Regions from separate parts of the Homo sapiens genome. Here regions 1, 2, 3 and 4 are each linked to region 5. Evidence: promoter capture Hi-C in human tissues and cell types (Jung and others, 2019). All regions are on one chromosome and are shown on one strand. Each heading gives the region's core, a stretch centred on a gene start or on the middle of the fragment in contact. The rest is flanking DNA. Distances are from core to core; before and after follow the strand shown. Region 1 has its middle 17 kb from the start of ITCH. Region 2 has its middle 19 kb from the start of AHCY. Region 3 has its middle 62 kb from the start of EIF2S2. Region 4 has its middle 37 kb from the start of ASIP. Region 5 holds the start of PIGU (phosphatidylinositol glycan anchor biosynthesis class U).

What was found. The method cuts DNA at HindIII sites, captures the fragments that hold promoters and counts their contacts. A contact is called where the count stands out against the background at its distance.
Region 1: a fragment that was not itself captured here is called in contact with the fragment with the promoter of PIGU in region 5 in 3 of the 25 tissues and cell types used here (dorsolateral prefrontal cortex, hippocampus and spleen).
Region 2: a fragment that was not itself captured here is called in contact with the fragment with the promoter of PIGU in region 5 in 1 of the 25 tissues and cell types used here (mesenchymal stem cells).
Region 3: a contact is called between a fragment that was not itself captured here and the fragment with the promoter of PIGU in region 5, in 2 of the 25 tissues and cell types used here (IMR-90 fibroblasts and dorsolateral prefrontal cortex).
Region 4: a fragment that was not itself captured here is called in contact with the fragment with the promoter of PIGU in region 5 in 1 of the 25 tissues and cell types used here (mesendoderm cells).

What each region holds. Positions count from the first base shown.
Region 1 is chr20:34,344,881-34,347,705 of GRCh38, forward strand. No RefSeq gene overlaps it. Among named protein-coding and RNA genes, the nearest start is that of ITCH, 17 kb to the right of the region's middle. The HindIII fragment of the contact is 6,422 bases long and covers 1-2,825 here.
Region 2 is chr20:34,321,324-34,324,023 of GRCh38, forward strand. No RefSeq gene overlaps it. Among named protein-coding and RNA genes, the nearest start is that of AHCY, 19 kb to the left of the region's middle. The HindIII fragment of the contact is 4,210 bases long and covers 1-2,700 here.
Region 3 is chr20:34,173,153-34,175,852 of GRCh38, forward strand. No RefSeq gene overlaps it. Among named protein-coding and RNA genes, the nearest start is that of EIF2S2, 62 kb to the left of the region's middle. The HindIII fragment of the contact is 6,088 bases long and covers 1-2,700 here.
Region 4 is chr20:34,202,963-34,205,662 of GRCh38, forward strand. It overlaps a transcript of ASIP not described here. Among named protein-coding and RNA genes, the nearest start is that of ASIP, 37 kb to the right of the region's middle. The HindIII fragment of the contact is 6,854 bases long and covers 1-2,700 here.
Region 5 is chr20:34,675,676-34,678,375 of GRCh38, forward strand. PIGU (phosphatidylinositol glycan anchor biosynthesis class U) reads right to left here and starts at 1,417. Exons shown (of 12, transcript NM_080476.5): 1 at 1,281-1,417. The coding sequence starts at 1,410. RefSeq lists enhancers at 885-1,771, 1,772-2,657 and silencers at 1,037-1,136, 1,377-1,486. The HindIII fragment of the contact is 20,123 bases long and covers 1-2,700 here.

The DNA of each region.
Region 1 (2,825 bases), core at 309-2,808, 330 kb before region 5:
TTTCACCATGTTGGCCAGCATGGTCTTGAACTCCTGAACTCATGATCCGCCCCCGCCTTAGCCTCCCAAAGTGCTGGGATTACAGGCGTGAGCCACTGCGCCCAGCCTTGAAGACATCTTTATAGAGGTATAATTGCCATACCATAAAATGCACACACTTTTAGTGTATAATTGAATGATTTATAGTAAATTTATTGAGTTGTACAACCACCATGACCAGAAAAAACAAACTCAGTTTCTCCCACTATACTCACAACAGGCCTCTGACACAAGATGTATAGGGGTTTTCCCCACACATCAGGCAATCAGTCAGTTCTGCAGTGGACACCAGCTGGGTGTTTTCTAGTCCAAATAAACTCTGATACTATCCACCTGAAAATAACACCAGGTCCCATAGGTTGAGTGCTCAGTCCCCAAGACTATCCTCACTTCAGATGCCAGTAATAAGTCCAGGCCTCCAGAACTTCAAACTAACCAGCCATAAATCAGGATTCCCACAACTCCCTCCCTGGGTTCCATTAATTTGGTAGAGGGACTTACAGAACTCAGGGAAACATATACATTACAAACGCTACAAATAAACAGCCAGATGGAGAGAACAAAGGGTAAAGTCTGAAAGGGTCTGGAGCACGGGAGCTTTTATCCCTATGGAGATGGGGTGTCACCTCCTCCTCCTGCGTGTGGATGTGCTCTCATTCACCTTCCTGGAAGCCTACAGGTGTTCAGCTATTTAGAAGCTCTCTGAACCCAGTCGCTTTGGTTTATAATGGAAGCGTCAGGCTGGGCCCAGAGGCTCACACCTGTAATCCCAGCACTTTGGGAGGCCTAGGCAGGTAGACCACCTAAGGTCGGGAATTCGAGACCAGCCTGGCCAACACGGTGAAACCCCATCTATATTAAAAATACAAAAATTAGCTGGTTGTGGTGGCAGGTGCCTGTAGTCCCAACTACTTGGGAGATTGAGGCACAAGAATTGCTTGAACCTTGGAGGTGGAGATTGCAGTGAGCTGAGATCACGCCATTGCACTCCAGCCTGGGAAACAGAGTGAGACTCTTGTCTCAAAAAAAAAAGCATCATTAGGTAAGCATGATTGATAAATAATTGGCCATTGGTGATTAACTTCACTTAGAGACCCTCCCTGGAGGTTGGGGGTGGGGCTGAAAGTTTCAACCCTTTGAACTAATGGTTGGATCCTCTGGCAGCCACTCTCCCATCCTGTGGTTATCTTGGAACTTTCCCCGAATCCTGTCATTAACATAAATTCTGCCGGGCGCTGTGTCTCACACCTGTAATCTCAGCACTTTGGGAGACCAAGGCGGGCGGATCATGAGGTGAGGAGATTGAGACCATCCTGGCCAACATGGTGCAACCCCGTCTCTACTAAAAAAAAAAAAAAAAAAAAAAAAACAAAAAACTAGCCAGGTGTGGTGGCACGTGCCTGTAATCCCAGCTACTCAGGAGGCTGAGGCACAAGAATCTCTTTAACCAGGGAGGCAGAGGTTGCAGTGAGTGGAGATCGCACCACTGCATTCCAGCCTGGTGACAGAGCGAGACTCCCTCTCAAAACAAAACAAAATATAAACTCAAGTGTGTTTGAAAAGGGATTGTTTTAAATAACAATATTTTTATCTTTCACCTTCTGGCACTGAAGCTATTCCAAGAGGGGTTTCAAAGATCTAGGACAAAAGGCCAAATATTTTAACAAAAGATTTTTTTTTTTTGAGACAGAGTCTCGCTCTATTGCCCAGGCTGGAGTGCAGTGATGCAATCTCGGCTCACTGCAACCTCCGCTTCCTAGGTTTAAGCAATTCTCCTGCCTCAGCCTCCTGAGTAGCTGGGACTGCAGGCATATGCCACCGCACCCGGCTAATTTTTTGTGTTTTTAGTAGAGACGGGGTTTCACCACATTGGCCAGGCTGGTCTCGATCTCCTGATGTCATGATCCGCCTGCCTCGGCCTACCAAAGTGCTGGGATTACAGGCATGAGCCACTGCGCCCAGCCAACAAAATATATTCTTATTGCTTTAGATACTTCCCTTATCCCCCAAGTTGGATTAAATGCTAGCTCTAGGGCTGGGCTCAGTGGCTCACGCCTGTATTCCCAGCACTTTGGGAGGCCAAGGCAGGTAGATCACTTGAAGTCAGGAGTTGGAAACCAGCCTGGTCAACATGGTAAAACCTACCTCTACTAAAAATACAAAAGTTGCTGGGCTCAGTGGCTCACGCCTGCAATCCCAGCACTTTGGGAGGCCGAAGTGGGCTGATCACGAGGTCAGGAATTTGAGACCAGCCTGGCCAGCATGGTGAAACCCTATCTTTACTAAAAATACAAAAATTAGCCAGGCATGGTGGCGTGTGCCTGTAATCCCAGGTACTTGGGAGGCTGAGGCAGGAGGATCGCTTGAATCCAGGAGGCAGAGATTGCAGTGAGCCGATATGGCGCCACTGCACTCCAGCCTGGCCAAAAGTGTGACTTTGTCTCAAAAAAAAAAAAAAAGTGGCCGAGCGCAGTGGCTCACGCCTGTAATCCCAGCACTTGGGAGGCCGAGGTGGGCAGATCATGAGGTCAGGAGTTCGAGACCAGCCTGGCCAACACAGTGAAACCCCATCTCTACTAAAAATACAAAAATTAGCTGGGCATGGTGGCAGGCACCTGTAATCTCAGCTACTAGGGAGGCTGAGGCAGGAGAATCGCTTGAACCCAGGAGGCGGAGGTTGCAGTAGCTGAGATCGCATCACTGCATTCCAGCCTGGGTGACAGAGCTGGACTGTCTCCAAAAAAAAAGTGCTGTTCCATTTGGAAGTCAAGGCTGATGCCACCTAA
Region 2 (2,700 bases), core at 27-2,526, 350 kb before region 5:
TTTTTTGAGGTGGAGTTTCTCTTTTGTCACCCAGGCTGGAGTGCAATGGCGTGATCTCGGCTCACTACAACTCCACCTCCCAGGTTCAAGCGATTCTCCTGCCTCAGCCTCCCAAGTAACTGGGATTACAGGTGTGCACCACCACGCTTGGCTAATTTTTTGTACTTTTAGTACAGACTGGGGGTCTCACCATGTTGGCCAGCCTGGTCTCGAACTCCTGACCTCAGGTGATCTGCCTGCTTTGGCCTCACAAAGTGCTGGGATTACAGGTGTGAGCCACCGTGATTGGCAGGTTTAAAGCATTCTAAGTCACAGAATAACATAGGAGATCTGCACAAAATGCAGGTCATAAATACCTTGCTAATAAAACAGGTTGCAGTAAAGAAGCCACCAAAACCCACCAAAGCCAAGATGGCCACGAGAGTAACCTCTGGTCGTCCTCACTGCTACATTCCCACTGCAGCCATGACAGTTTACAAATGCCTTTGCAATGTTAGGAGGTTATCCTATAAGGTCTAAAAGGGGAGGGATGAATCATCCACCCCTTGTTTAGCATATAATCAAGAAATAACCATAAAAATGGGCAACCAGCGGCCATTGGGGCTGCTCTGCCTATGGAGTAGTCATTCTTTTATTCTTTTACTTTCCTAATAAACTTGTTTTCACTTTATGGGCTTGCCCTGAATTTTTTCTTGCGTGAGATCAAAGAACCCTCTTTGGGGTCTGGATCGGGACCCCTTTCCTGTAACACTATGGATGTCTGTGAGTGTGTGGGACAGAGGAGTGAGACCTTGAGGTCAAGTGTAAGCATGTGTGTCTACAACTGTGCATAATTAGGACTGTGTGTGGGTAAGTTAGCTGGTGAGGGTTATAAGAATATGAGATATGGCCAAGCATGTGTGTTAGATTGAGTGTGTATGTGTGTATGAGTGTTATGTGTTTTCCAGAAGGTGCTTGTCCATGCCTGATACTTGCAAAAAATGAGAAAATGTCGAAACAAAGAACACTTTCAGAGCTTTACAGAGATGTTCAAAGCAAATGAACCTCTGGGTACTGTGACCAGCTGGGAAGATGAGGCGAGCCAGGTGGAGGGGTGTGGAGAAAAGCTTTTCTGAAGTTCCTAATCTCACTCAGGCAAGGAGCCAGGGACCCTATTAGGGTCAAGTGCTTCCCACGCACAGTTGCCTTCTTAGTTTAGATGACAGCTGCACATCTGGGCCTTCTTCCTCCTCATCCCCATCATAATTAGTGGTTAATTCGTTCATTCATACAACAAACATTTACTCAGTACTGACTTTTAAGTGAAGTTTAGCCTAAACCTGACTCCTCACATATTTTGAAGTTCAGCCTAAAGGTTTCTCTGTACATTGTGAACTATAACCTAAATGGAATTGTAAACAGACTGCAGCCTACTCTTGTGCCAGTCACCGAGTTTTGCCAATCAGGTGTGGCCAGCTATTCAAACCGTGTTCAAATAAGACAAAAACGCCATGCTATAACCAATCTGGTTGTTTCTACAGAAACAACATTTTCCTTTTTCTGTTCATAAATCTTCTTCCACCACGTGGCTGTGTCATAGGCTATACTCATAGGTCGAACCAGAGCAACACCATCTTGAATAGGGGCTGGGTAAAATAAGGCTGAGACCCTGCTGAGCTGCATTCCAGGAAGTTAGGCATTCTAAGTCACAGGATGAGATAGGTCAGCATAAGATACAGGTTACAAAGACCTTGCTGATAAAACAGGATACAGTAAAGAAGCCAGCCAAAACCCACCAAAAACCAAGATGACATGAAAGTGCCCTCTGGTCGTCCTCACTGTTCATTATACGCTAATTATAATGCATTAGCATGCTAAGAAACAGTCTCGCCAGTGCCACGACAGTTTACAGATGCATGGCAACAGCTGGAAGTTACTCTATAAGGGAAGGAAACTTCACTTCCAGGAATTGCACAACCCTTTCCCAGGAAACTCATGAATAATCCACCCTTTGTTTAGCATATGGTCAAGAAATAATGATAAGTATAATCAGTTGAGCAGCCCATGCTGCTGCTCTGCCTATGGAGTAGCCACTCTTTTATTCCTTTACTTTCTTTTTTTTTTTTCTGAGACAAGTCTTACTCTGTCGCTCAGGCGGGAGTGCAGTGGCGCGATCTCGGCTCACTGCAACCTCTGCCCCACAGGTTCAAGCAATTCTCCTGCCTCAGCCTCCTGAGTAGCTGTGATTACAGGTGCATGCCACCACGGCTGGATAATTTTTTGTATTTTTAGTGGAGACGGGCTTTCGCTGTGTTAGCCAGGATGGTCTTAATCTCCTGACCTCTTGATCCGCCTGCCTCAGCCTCCCAAAGTGCTGGGATTACAGGCGTGAGCCACCGCACCCGGCCCTATTCCTTTACTTTCTTAATAAACTTTTCACTTTGTGGACTTGCCCTGAATTCTTTGTTGCGTGAGGTCCAAGAACCGTCTCTTGGAGTCTAGCTAGATTAGGACCCCTTTCCAGTGACAGCTGCGTGGGAGTCTCTGAGCCTACACTGGCTTGGGAGGCTGCCCATTCTTTGCTCAATTAAACTCTTTTACGTTTAATTCAGCTAGTTTTTCTTTTAACACTACTAAGGGCCAGGAACTGTGCTACAGCAGTGAGCGAAGCCCTGTCCTTGAGGAGCTAATGTCCTAGAGGGGGGATATATATATATATAA
Region 3 (2,700 bases), core at 173-2,672, 500 kb before region 5:
CACTTTTTTGATTTACAGTTTTTGTTGTTTGAAGATGCCTTGGCTTGTCCTCCCTCCTAAGATTTGCTGGAATCTGACTACTTTGGGGTAGTCTTGGAGCTTCTGCTATTAAACCCTTTTCTTAAAATGTGCTAGGGCTGCCTAGTTGCTCTTCTATGTAAAGAAAAACGTCTCTGAAAGAGTGTGTTGATTTGAAAAGTATATTCATCATATTCCAGGAACAGCTTACATTTTCCCACACTTTCATCCTTAAATAAAAAGTTGGCTGGGTGCAGTGGCTCATTGCCTGTAATCCCAGCACTTTGGGAGGCCGAGGCAGGCGGATCACGAGGTCAGGAGATCGAGACCATCCTGGCTAACACGGTGAAACCCCGTCTCTACTAAAAATACAAAAAATTAGCCAGACATGGTGGCAGGCGCCTGTAGTCCCAGCTACTTGGGAGGCTGAGGCAGGAGAATCGCGTGAAACCGGGAGGCGGAGCTTGCAGTGAGCCCAGATCGTGCCACTGCACTCCAGCCTGGGAGACTTTGAGACTCCATCTCAAAAAAAAAAGTTACAAATTAAGGCATCATACACTCATAATTGTCAATAGAATCTATCCCTGGCGAGTTATCAAAAATATGGGCTTAGCAGTAACGTCTTAATCACAAATAACTTTTCAAATGTACAAAGAAAATCTTTTTTCTCTGACTCATACAGTGAGATACAAAAATCAAATTGGTCCCTTAAGATAGGATTAGAGTTGATAAGATCATCACCCTTAGAATTAGGAGGTAAACGTTTTAGACCTGGAACAAAGTTAGCACCTAGTCGTGCAAATAAAGAAAGGACTCTAGAGTAGAGAGAACAATCCAGGGACTTCCTGGGTCATTTATTTATGAATTGACTTTTGACCCTTCTCATCATAGGCTGTGACCTATTCTTAAAGTTTGATCTTTTTTCAGTCCTTTTACAGCATGGCAGTATTTCCTTAAGATCTACCAAGAATCCTAGCGAGACTTAATTCTGTTAGCCTAACAATATGAGAAATTCAGAAAGTTAAGCGTACTTACTTCCTGGACTTTTACCCCTGTTTCCTATTCTCTAGTCCCCCTCCTGAAATTAGTGCTGATCAGAACAGAAGTTTGAAGAAACTACCTGAGGCTGGAGAAAGTAGCACCAGAAAAGAGCAGAAGGAACAATCCTCAGAGTACCAGCCCCAACAAGATAAAATTCACTATGTCTGACATTCAAAAAAAGTTATCAGGCCTGCAAAGAAACAGGAAAATGTGATCCATAATGAGGAGAAAAATCAAATCAATAAAACAGATCAAGAATTATACAGAAGATAGAATTGGTAGACAGAGACATTAAAACAGTTCTTATAACTGTATTCCACATGTTCAAGAAGCTAGAGGAAAGATTGAAAATGATAAGTAGAGTCATGGAAGTTATTTTAAAAGATCTAAGTCTAACTTCTAGAGATGAAAAATATGGTATTTGATATGAAAAATACAATGGATAAGATTAACAGCAAATTAAACATTGCCAAAGGAAAGACTAAATAACTTGAAGACATAGCTATAAAAACAATAAGAAATGAAACACATAGAGAAAAAAGACTTTAAAAAGAGCACATCAGCGAGCCTTGAGACAACATCAGGTGGCCTAATATATGTGTAATTAGAGACCCCAAAGGAGAAGGGAGGGTACAGAAAAAAAAGAAATAATGACCAAATAGTAATGAGCAGATAAAGACCCAAAATTTTTCAAATTTGATGAAAACTATAAACCCATAGACCCAAGAAGTTCAACAAACCCTACATGGGAAGCATGAAGAAAATGACACCAAGGAACTTTATAATCAATTTGCTTAAAGCTATTGTTAAAGAAAAAAATCTTCTTCATCTCCAGTGCCTTAGGTTAGGTCCTCTTCATTTCTTAGCTGAACTTTTACAATAATCTCCAACTAATTGCCCTGCCTCTAATATAATTCCCCACCAGTCTTTTCCTCTTCACCACTGTTAGAGAACTCTTCACTGACCATTGACTAAAATCCAGGCTCTTAGCACTGCAAGTAAAGCTTTGTTAGCATGGCATATGTGACCCTTTTCACTCTCTCCAATCTCGGCACCCTATCCTCCACATCTGTTCCCAGTCCTCTAACCACATGGTACAGTTCGTGGAAAGAGCTGTACTGCTCTGGCCTCTATGCCTTTACATATGCTATTGTCTGTCTGGAAATGTCCTTCTCTTCCTTGGTTTATTAATCTGTGGCCCCCACTAATCTCTAAGCTCCTGGAAGACGACAGACTGTCTCTTTTTCACTGCAGTGTTGGGCTGAAAAAGGAAATAGAGTGGAATTTGAGAAGGGGTGTGGAAGGCAGGAGGAGGGAAGGGAGAAAAGAACAATAGAAAAAACAAGACTGAAGAGCTTAGCCAAAGTGTTCTATTTCCACAAAGAAGGTAAATATAGAAGAGAGAAGGCCGGGCATGGTGGCTCATGCCTGTAATCCCAGCACTTTGGGAGGCCGAGGCAGGAGGATCACGAGGTCAAGAGATTGAGACCATGCTGGCCAACACGGTAAAACCCCGTCTCTATTAAACAATACAAAAATTAGCTGGGCATGGTGGCATGTGCCTGTAGTCCCAGCCACTTGGGAAGCTGAGGCAGGAGAATCACTTGAACCTGGGTGGCAGAGGTCAGAGGTTGCAGTGAG
Region 4 (2,700 bases), core at 176-2,675, 470 kb before region 5:
TACGCCCGGCTAATTTTTTGTATTTTTAGTAGCGACGGGGTTTCACCGCGTTAGCCAGGATGGTGTCAATCTCCTGACCTCATGATCTGCCTGCCTCGGCCTCCCAAAGTGCTGGGATTACAGGCGTGAGCCTTGGCTATTCTTGAACTTCTATATTTCCACATAAACTTTAGGATAACTTTATAAATTCTACCAAAAAAAACCCTGCTGGAATTTTTATTGGGATTACATTAAATCTGTCCATCAATTAATATGAAAGTCTTTACAATATTAAATTTTTTTATCCATGAATATGGTATATCCCTTCACTAGTTGAAGTCTTATTAAAATTTTTTGATGTTTTATAGTTTTCTATGTAGAAACCTGGTATATTATTCATTGGATTTATTCCCAATTATTTTCTATTTATTTTATAAGTGGCATATATATATGTATATTATATATATATTTTTTGAGACACGGTTTCACTCTGTCACTCAAGCTGGAGTGCAGTGGCATGATTTTGGCACACTGCAACCTCTGCCTCCTGGGTTCAAGTGATTCTCATGCCTCAGCCTCCCAAGGAGCTGGGATTACAGGCACCTGCCACCACACGTGGCTAATCTTTGCATTATTGTAGAGACAGGGTTTCGCCACGTTGGCCTGGCTGGTCTCGAACGCCTAACTTCAAGTGATCCTCCCACCTCGGCCTCCCAAAGTGCTGAGATTACAGGCATGAGCCAATGCACCCAGCCTTATAAGTGGCGTATTTTAATTTTATTTATTTATTTATTTTTTGAGATGGAGTTTCGCTCTTTTTTGCCCAGGCTGGAGTGCAATGGCACGATCCTGCCTCACTGCAACCTCTGCCTCCTAGGTTCAAGCAATTTTCCTGCCTTAGCCTCCCAAGTAGCTGGGATTACAGGCACACGCCACCATACCCGGCTAATTTTGTATTTTTAGTAGAGATGGGGTTGTTTCACCATGTTGGCCAGGCTGGTCTCGAACTCCTGACCTCAGGTGATCCACCTGCCTTGGCCTCAAAGTTCTGGGATTACAGGCGTGAGCCACCACGCCCGGCCATAAATGGCATATTTTAATGTTCATTTTTAGTTGTTTGATGCTGGCATATTGACATAATAATTAAAATTTTGTATTTATACTTGCATACAGCAACCCTGCTTAATTAACTTAATAATTCTTATAGTTTATTTATAGATTCACAATCATGTAGTATGTGTAGTGTGTGTAGTGATTTCTTTCAGATAGTTATTTTTTTAATTTTTTTTTTTTTTTGAGACGGAGTTTTGCACTTGTTGTCCAGGCTGGAGTGCAATGGTGCAATCTTGGCTCGCCGCAACCTCCGCCTCGTGGGTTAAAGCGATTCTCCTGCCTCAGCCTTCCGAGTAGCTGGGATTATAGGCACACGCCACCATGCTGGCTAATTTTGTATTTTTAGTAAAAATGGGGTTTCTCCATGTTGGTTAGGCTGATCTTGAACTCCTGACCTCAGGTGATCTACCCACTTTGGCCTCCCAAAGTGCTGGGATTACAGGTGTGAGCCACTGCTCCTGGCCCGTTTTTTAACTTCTTTTTCTTGAATTATTGGACTGGGTAAAACCTTAAGAACAATGATGAATAAAAGTGAAAATAGCAGGCATCCTTATCTTAGTTCTGATAGAAAGAAAGCACTCAATAATTTCAGTTAAATATGATGGTTGCTGGAGTTTACTTTTTGTAGTTACTCTTTATCAGATTGAGGAATTTTTCTTCTAATTCTAGTTTGATATAATTTTTAAACATTAACAGATGGTGAATTTTATGAAATGTATTTTTCTCATCAGTTAAAATGAGCCTGTGATTTTTACACTTTATTCATTTTATTTATTTTCTATTTTTATGGATAGGTAATAGTTGTACAATTTATGTGGTACATGTGATACTTTGATACAAGCATATAATGTGTAATGATCAAATCAGGATAATGGAATATCCATCACCTCAAGCATTTATCATTTATTTGTGTTGGGAACATTCCAAATCTACTCTTCTAGTTATTTTGAAAGGTACAATAAATTATACTTAATTATACTCACCCTATTGTGCTACCAAGTACAAGTGTGCCTGGAATTGGTGGGTTCTTGGTCTCGCTGACTTCAAGAATGAAGCCATGGACCCTCACGGTGAGTGTTACAGTTCTTAAAGATGGTGTGTCCGGAGTTTGTTCCTTCAGTTGTTCAGATGTGTCCGGAGTTTCTTCCTTCTGGTGGGTTCGTGGTCTTGCCGACTTCAGGAGTGAAGCTGCAGACCTTCACAGTGAGTGTTACAGCTCTTAAAGGCATCACGTCCAGAGCTGTTCATTCCTCCCAATGGGTTTGTGGTCTCACTGGCTTCAGGAGTGAAGCTGCAGACCTTCGTGGTGAGTGTTACAGCTCATAGAGGCGGCGCATCCGGAGTTGTTCATTCCTCCCGCTGGGCTCGTGGTCTCGCTGGCTTCAGGAGTGAAGCTGCAGACCTTCTCGGTGAGTGTTACAGCTTATAAAGGTAGTGCAGACCCAAAGGGTGAGCAGCAGCAAGATTTATTGCGAAGAGCGAAAGAACAAAGCTTCCACAGCGTGGAAGGGGACCCAAACGGGTTGCTGCTACTGGCTCTGGTTGCCTGCTTTTATTCCCTTATTTGGCCCCACCCACATCCTGTCGCTTGGTCTATTTTACAGAGCG
Region 5 (2,700 bases), core at 167-2,666:
CATTATGCCGTTCCCCATACCAACATTCTATGGGATAACATCAAAACGTTAGCCTTGGCCAGGTGCCATGGCTCACGCCTGAAATCCCAGCACTTTGGGAGGCCAAGTGAGACTGCTTGAGTCCAGGAGTTCCAGACCAGCCTGGGCAACATAGAAAGACCCTGTCTCTAAACAAAAAACAAAAACAAAAACAAAAAAACTTTAGCATTTAAAGGACACAAAGGGGACTTCTGGGGTGCTGATACTGTTTCTTGAACTAGGTGCTGGCTACATGAGTGAATACAGTTTTTAAAAATTCATTGAACTCTACACTTACTTAATATGCATTGTATGTATACTGTACTTCAGTAAAAAAAAAAAAAAAAAAGTTGTTTGTTTTTTTTTAATCATCAAACTCTGGCCTAAACCTAGCTTCCACCCCATTACTCCCCTGCTTTGGACATTTCACATCCTTGAACGTTTCTTCATCCTATTTACTTTCTGCTACCTGGAACTCTCCTTTTCTCTAATCTCCCTTTCAAAACCCTACATCCTTCAAGAGTCAGCTCAAATCCCACATTCTGGAAAACTGGAAAGGTAGGGGATAGTTTATTCAGGGTCAGAATACTAAGGAAGGAACTGGGTGGACACATAAAGTATACTTTTCATGAATTATTATAACGATTTGTCTCCCTCACTAGCCTGTGCAGCTACTTCAGGCCAACTTCGCTTTCTCGCTGTAGGCGTTAGTATAAAACAATGTTCGGTGAAGAACTTAGTAAGGAACAGTAACAAAAATTGCCCTGCAAGTCCCAGACTGAGAAGAGACGTCTAAAGCACACGCACACTCTCCTCGCTTAAGCAAAATTGGTCCCCTCATCCCGGACCCCCTCACACATAACCTTTTATCCCAGGGAGCACCCCTGGCGATCCCGCCCCAAATCCCAAACTCCTCTGCAAGCCGCGCTCCACAAGCACCTCCTCCTCTTATTCCAACCCTTCCCACAGACCACACTCCTCGGCTCAGGACACTGAATGGGACACGCCCCCTCAGATCCCCACCACTAGGTGGTCCGGCCCCCAGGGCCCAAACCTCACGACACTGTCCCCACGCCCCGGTCCCCACGCCCCCTCCCCTCACCAGCCCCGCCCTCAGGCCCCGCCCTCTCCAAGAACCCCACGAGACAGTCAGTTAGTTCTCTAGGAACCGCGCGCTGGCGGTCACTGCCCCCGCCTCCCATTCACAGAGGCCGCGGGAGGGCAGGTGGGGCCTGACAGTCTGCTCGAGCCAGTGGCCTCACCTCTCTTCCAAGAGCTCAGTGGGGACACCACCTCCACCCGCTCGGAAATGAACTCGGCCAGACTGGAGCGGAACAAGGCCGCCCGCACTGTCACAGCCACCACCAGCACCAGGACCAAGGGAGCCGCCATGATAACTGGGGCGGGCGCGCGGGCGGGGAGGGAAGGCGAGGCGGAGGAGCCTCGCGCGCTGTGCGCCACGCTCTGTAGTTCCGCGGGTGGGCGCGCGCTGCCGCTGGCGCCGGAGAGGCCAGACGTGGGGACTACGGCTCCCAGAAAGCCTTGCGGCGAGGCGGGCCGGAGCGACGGAAAGCGGGCGCCTCAAGCTGCGTATGCAGAAGGTGGGGCGAAACCTTCTACGATCGCAGGTGTTTTGTGAAGCCGCGCCGCTATAGCGGGGCTGAAACGCTGCTGAAAGTAGAAGCGGAAGTAGTCGCCTTCCTGGGATTGTGAGAGACTTTTAAACAGATGTTAAATTCACTCTTGCGTGTATGTTTTCAATGCCAAAATGTTTATTTTTATTTTTATTTTTATTTTTTTTGAGACGGAGTCTCGCTCTGTCGTCCGGCTGGAGTGCAGTGGCGCGATCTTGGCTCACTGCAACTTCCGCCTCCTGGGTAGCTGGGATGACAGGCGCCCACCACCACGCGCGGCTATTTTTTTTTTTTTTTTTTTTTTGTATTTTTAGTAGAGATGGGGTTTCACCATGTTGGCCAGGTTGGTCTCGAACTCCTGACCTCAGGTGATCCGCCCGCCTCGGCTTCCCAAAATGCTGGGATTACAGGCGTGAGCCACCGCACCCTGCCCAAAATGTTTATGTTTTTTGTTTTTGAGACAGGGTCTCAGTGCCGTCGCCCAGGCTGGAGTGCAGTGGCGCAATCTCAGCTCACTGCAGCCTGGACCTCCCGGGCTCCAGAGTAGCTGGGACCACAGGTGCGCGCCACCACACCCGGCTAAGTTTTTGTACTTTTAGTAGAGACGGGGTTTCGCCATGTTGCCCAGGCTGGTACCTTTTATGTTTTTAAAGAGTGTTAAATGTGTATTTTTTAAAAAATTTATTCTGGCAGTTGTTTGTTAAACGCCAACTATTTTCCAGGCACTATGTTAGGTTCTACAGATGCGTTTTGGAGTAGTAGACTGATTTATTAGCTAGTTCAACAAGTCGCTTAACCCTTGTGTGCTGAAAAATGTGCTGATTATAGGCTAACTAGGGACAGTTGAGGAAGGCTTAGAAATTTTTTTTTTGTTTTGGAAACGGAGTTTCGCTCTTATTGCCCGGGTTGGAGTGCAATGGCGCGATCTCAGCTCACTGCAACCTCCGACTCCCAGGTTCAAGCGATTCTCCTGCCTCAGCCTCCCGAGTAGCTGGGATTACATGCATGCGCCATCACGCCCGGCTAATTTTTTGTAATTTTAGTAGAG